Regions from separate parts of the Homo sapiens genome. Here region 1 is linked to region 2. The links are contacts of gene promoters, found by promoter capture Hi-C in human tissues and cell types (Jung and others, 2019). All regions are on one chromosome and are shown on one strand. The core of a region is centred on a gene start or on the middle of the fragment in contact, and the rest is flanking DNA. Distances in the headings are between cores, read along the strand shown.

What was found. Contacts are between HindIII fragments. The study calls those that stand out against the background at their distance.
Region 1: the fragment with the promoter of EZH1 here is called in contact with the fragment with the promoter of RPL27 in region 2 in 1 of the 25 tissues and cell types used here (hippocampus).

The regions. Positions count from the first base shown.
Region 1 is chr17:42,743,693-42,746,392 of GRCh38, reverse strand. It overlaps EZH1 (enhancer of zeste 1 polycomb repressive complex 2 subunit), which reads left to right and starts at 1,353. Exons shown (of 21, transcript NM_001991.5): 1 at 1,353-1,382. RefSeq lists a silencer at 1,196-1,775. The HindIII fragment of the contact is 12,026 bases long and covers 1-2,700 here.
Region 2 is chr17:42,997,144-42,999,843 of GRCh38, reverse strand. It overlaps RPL27 (ribosomal protein L27), which reads right to left and starts at 1,425. Exons shown (of 5, transcript NM_000988.5): 1 at 1,373-1,425; 2 at 1,013-1,095. The coding sequence starts at 1,093. It overlaps LOC124904006 (a long non-coding RNA gene), which reads left to right. Exons shown (of 2, transcript XR_007065759.1): 1 at 1-123; 2 at 458-2,700. RefSeq lists enhancers at 964-1,073, 1,144-1,383, 1,394-1,703, 669-1,868. The HindIII fragment of the contact is 14,123 bases long and covers 1-2,700 here.

The DNA of each region.
Region 1 (2,700 bases), core at 104-2,603, 250 kb after region 2:
GGACAACATGGTGAAACCCCATCTCTACTAAAATTACAAAATTTGCCGGGTATAGTAGTGCATGCCTGTAAACCCAGCTACTTGGGAGGCTGAGGCAGGAGAATCGCTTGAACCCAGGAGGCAGAGATTGCAGTGAGCCGAGATTGCACCATTGCACTCCAGCCTAGGCAACAAGAGTGAAACTGTCTCAAAACAAACAAACAAACAACACGCACAAAAAATCAGCTTATGCGTGTTCGTCAAGAATACCACAGAAGTGATTTTGTGCGCTTCTCATTGCATCATGTTCAGAGGGACCTGGTAAGAATACCTCTCAGCTGGGGGCAATGGCTCATGCCTGTAATCCCAACACTTTGGGAAATCAAGGTGGGAGGATGGCTTGAACCCTGGAGTTCAAGACCAGCCTAGGCAACACAGCAAGACCCTGTCTCCTTAAAAAGAAGAGGGAGGCCGGGCGTGGTGGCTCATGCCGGTAATCTCAGCACTTTGGGAGGCCGAGGTAGGCAGATCACTTGAGGTCAGGAGTTTGACAGCAGCCTGGCCAATACGGTGAAACCCCATCTCTACTAAAAATACAAAAATTAGCCGGGCGTGGTGGCACGAACCTGTATTCCTGGCTACTTGGGAGGCTGAGGCGGGAGAATTGCTTGAGCCCGGGAGGGAGAGGTTGCAGTGAGCCGAGATCGCGCCACGGCACTCCAGCCTGTGTAAGTAACAAAGCGAGACTCCGTCCAGCCTCGCCCCCCGGCAAAAAAAGAAGAAGAAAACAATACCTCTTATCACTAGTGATGCTAACTTTGATCACTTAGTTAAGGTGGTGTCTGACAGATTCTTATCTGTAAAGTTGCTATTTTTTTCCCTTTGTAACTAGCAGGTGTCTTGTGGGGATTTATTTCGATACAAGGCTATAATTTTGATTCTAAGTGACTAGAAAACTATGAACAGAAATAGGGAGATCAGACATAAATAAAGGGCTTAGAACCCATAGACCGGTGTCTGGAGAACTGGTAGGGGTGAAGCATCGGTATGAAGGTGATCTGGGTTGGCTTCAAACGCTGAAGTGAGATGTGGCTTGTCACCAGCGCGTGGGGATGGCAAATCCGCTGAATAGGGTCTTCAGGAAGATATTAGTGGCTCTGCGAAGGTTTCCCCAGAGCCCTTCCCCTCCCCTGCCAGCGCCGCTTTGGAAGCCGTCTGGGAGGCTGCACCCGCCAGGACTCCTGAGTGCGGGGTTTTGGCGGCAAATGACAGTAGTGCGTCCGCGCGGCACGGGTAAGTCAATGCGCACGCGCCGACAGGAGGCGCGGGGCGGGGCACGGCGCAGGGGTGGGGCCGCGGCGCGCATGCGTCCTAGCAGCGGGACCCGCGGCTCGGGATGGAGGGTGAGTGAGTAAACAAGCCTGGGCCGGGCGGTGGGGCCGGGCCTCCTCCCCTCGCCGCCCTGGGCCTGAGGGAGGGAGAGGCGGAGGGATCAGGAAATTGGAAGGAATCCGAGGGACACACTGCCTGCCTGGCCGGGGGTAGCAGGCGCCCCTCCTCATTCCGAGGGTGGGGGAATGGGGGCGACGGGGCGAGAGAGACCCAGGCGAGGACAGCGTCTGGGGCTGCGAGGGCTGTGTGCCCGGGAGGAGGAGCGGCGGGGGCGGGCTCGGGGACGGGGAATCCCGTTGGATGGCGGTGTGGGCCGGTGGGCGGGAGCCCCAGCGCCCAAAGGGCGCGGGAGGGCGGTGGCACCTGCGGGGGCCTTTAGCGAGGTGGACTCTGGGGACCTGGAGCTGTGCTTGGGGAGGGCTAGAGACCGGGGCTGATCTTGCGATGGCTTTCGGGGATGTTGAGGAGGGGTAGCAGTAAAAACAAGGCCGGGACTAGGGTGAGGTGAGTAAGGCTCCCAAGGCACAAAGTGTAAAGGAGCACTGACTCAGGGTCGCGCAAGTGCAGTGAGCGCCTCCTCACGTGCGTCCTGGGTGCCTCGGTCGCCTCACCCCAGGCCTGGCCCTGAGCAAGAATCTCCTTCACTCCAGACTTTTGGTCTCACGCCAATGATCGCTCACCCCCACCATTCAACCGAGGATCAAATGATATAAATAAAAGTGCCTTGAAGCACAGACAAGGTGTTGTATTTGGGACATGCCTGTTAGGAAATGTGGGACAAACTTTTATTTCAATAAAAAGTGACTACTGAGGAATTGTTTCTTGAGCAGGGAAGGGAAGGGATACCTGAAGGATGTTAGTGCCCCCCGTGGAATGTGAAGGAATATGGAGGGTGAAATACAGGGTTGTATGTGATGTAGCCCAGGCCGATAGGAACCTGACGCTTGGCAGGGGAGGATGAAAGCAAAGGAGCTCAGGTACACTAACAATTAGGTGGGTGCAAGGATGGCAATGAAAACGCGAGTCTCCTCCACGTTTGCTGCCATACTGCCGCTGAATAAAAAAATTCCCACACCCCATGTTTTTTAAATTTAGGAAACTGATATTGAAGGAGGTTTCCAGCCTGAGAAGGTGCTAACCCTATTAGAGGTTTCTGTGAAAGCTTGTCTATTTTAAGTCTTGGAATCCCCAGATATGCCACTGATAAAAGAGATTACTTACATAGGAGAGAGTGTGTGTTAGGAGATAAGTACTTTAGACTGGGCTCGGTGGCTCATATCTGAAATCCCAGCATTCGGGAGGCCCAGGCAGGAGAATAGCTTGAGCCCA
Region 2 (2,700 bases), core at 176-2,675:
CCCTCAGGTCTCCAAGATCCACCATTATAAAGAGAAAAATCACAGAAAGCTATGAGAAATGACCAAAGAGAAACAGAACAGTGTTTATCTCCATCAGGAAGCATCTGGAACGGCTTACTAGAGGTAAGAGATTTAAAAGTAGCAACAGTTAACATTTAAGAAGTACTTGCTATATGCCAAGCACTGCTCACAGGACTTGGTATCTATTCACTTGCTCCACTGCTAGTGAAGTGTACAGCCAAGGTTAAGACACCACAGCCTAACTCCAGAGATCAGTCTCAGGAGATGGGAGAGGGGAATCCAGGGGTACTCCAGTGTCCCCACAACAACAAAACGCAGTGGTGTATGTGGCCAGAGCCTAGGGAACTCTCTCAAGAAGCTACAAAATCATGGATAAGAGGAAAACAGTGAGGGGCTATGTGACCTTTCTAAAAGCAATTTCCTCCTCTTCTTACAGATTCCCAGCTGCAGCACTTCAGGTAAATAACAGAACACCTCCAAACCTTAGCAACAGGAAGGAACCCCCTATAGCTGGGGATGGTGGCACGCACCTGTAGTCCCAGCCACTCGAGAGGCTGAGATGGGAGACTCGCTTGAGCCCGGGAGGTCGAGGCTGCAGTGATCACGCCACTGCACTTAGCCTGGACAGAGATCCCGTCTCAAAAAAAAAAAAAAGAAAAGAAAAGAAAAGGAATCCCCTATGATTACTTCAAGGACTGCACATGACAATACCTGAAAGGCAGTGGGAGCACATAGCAAGCGTGCAATGTCAGCCACTATTACTATATATTTAAAGCCTCTGGTGGAGAAGGCTTTATGCGTTGGGAGCCCAATTCAGCTCACATTTGCTTTTACTGTGCTTCTTCCTCTCTCAAAAACTCTCCCACGTTCACCCTGACCGTGCTCACTGGCTACTGCCCCAGAAACAGGCCTTGAATTCCAAGCCTGCCCGCCCCGCCGCAGCCAGCCTGGTCCCGGCATGCAAGGACGCAGAGTCCCGCGAGGCTGATACCTTCACGATGACAGCTTTGCGTCCGGAGTAGCGTCCAGCCAGGACAAGCACCACCTTCCCAGGTTTCATGAACTTGCCCATTTCTGCAGAGAGCAAGGAGAAAGGGCCACTTAAAAATCCGTAAAGCCAAAGATGCCCAGAGCTGACTCCTGCCAGCAAGCCCAGGTCTTGGGCCGGAACTTCAGACTGTGTTCACTGTCGCCTTGGTCAAGGCCGCCCGAGGGCCCTGCTCGCAGGACAGGATCGGATACGTAGCCGCCAGAGACCTAGGGAAGGAATGCACCCGGCGCCGCCCGGACCTTCGACCCCCAAGCCGCGGATGGCAGCGGATTGAAAGATTCAACCCAAGCTTCTACTTACCGGCAGCAACCACCCGGCCCTACCAGCAAAAAGGAAAGAAGGACACTTCCGCTAACCTTTCACCCCGGTGAGGAGTGACCTCACTTCCTGTCCCGCCCTTCAGGCTTTGCCACGCTGATTGTGTGGTGCTGAGTCTCGTGTTGCGGGCGGAAGAAGCTCATGAGGGAAACGCAGGGCGCGGCAGCTCAAGTATTCGAATGAAACTTTATTAGCAGCTCCAGCAGTAGACAAGAGCAAAGGAGACTCCTCCCGGCCGACGGAAGAGCTGGGAGGGCGACTGTGCTGTGCGCTCTGGACTCAGCAGCTAGGCTTTGTTGTAGTTCCTTTCTCTGGCGCTAGGAGGGGGAACACAATCTGAAATTTACTTTTTCTCTTGGGAGACACAGGGAAAAAAATAGGGCATTTATTGGTGCCTGTCGGGGGCACTGTTAGCTAAAGAGGGAGGGACAAAGATCAGTAAGGGTGGCTGGTCCGATAGTAGTGGGTTATCAGAACTTATCAACGTTAGGGTCACTAAAGTTGGTATACAACCCCCCACTGCTAAATTTGGTTTTAAAAAAACAAACAAAAAGGATATTTACCCCCAACAGTTAAAGTCTAGTGGTGTCACTGACATTACCAACTAGAATAAGCATGAGGGAGGTAGAGGAGAAGAATGGCAGCTGCTTACCCTGTGCCAGGTCAGGTTAATCTATTTATGCACATCATCTGATTTGGTCATCATAACACTAAGAAATAGATACTATTATCTCCATTCTAGAGTCGAGGAAACTGGCTTAGAGAGATTTGCCCGAAGTCTATAGTGGTTAAATAGTGGAGCTGGGGCTCAGCCTCAAGCAGTTCAACTCCTGAACCCATACTGTTTACCATGTCACCATCCTGAGCAGCGATTCTCTCCCAGGCAAGATGTGAGCACTTTATACAAGCCGGCAGCCTGTTTAATCCTCACAACTCTGCATCTTGGGCATTCTCCTCCCATTTAGACATGAGGAAATTGCAATTCAGAGAGGATAAATTGCTTGTCTGAGGTTAATCCTAATCAGTGGCATAGATGGGATTCAAATCTAGGTCTGAATCTAGGTCTAGTTGGCTCTCAAACTGAATTATTTCCCATCACTCACCAGAAGAGTGTTTTCACATGGTACCTTATGTGCTTTCCGAGTTTAAGGGAAAGATAAACTATCTCACAGTTTTTGCTTATCTGAACCTATAGGATTTGTCTTGGGCAAGATGTGGAACAACCAGGATTTCATCAGTTCTCTCCTGAAGCTCTCCAGTGATACAATTTTCCCTGTATCCCTCAGGATCCCATTGCAATGGCTTTTGTT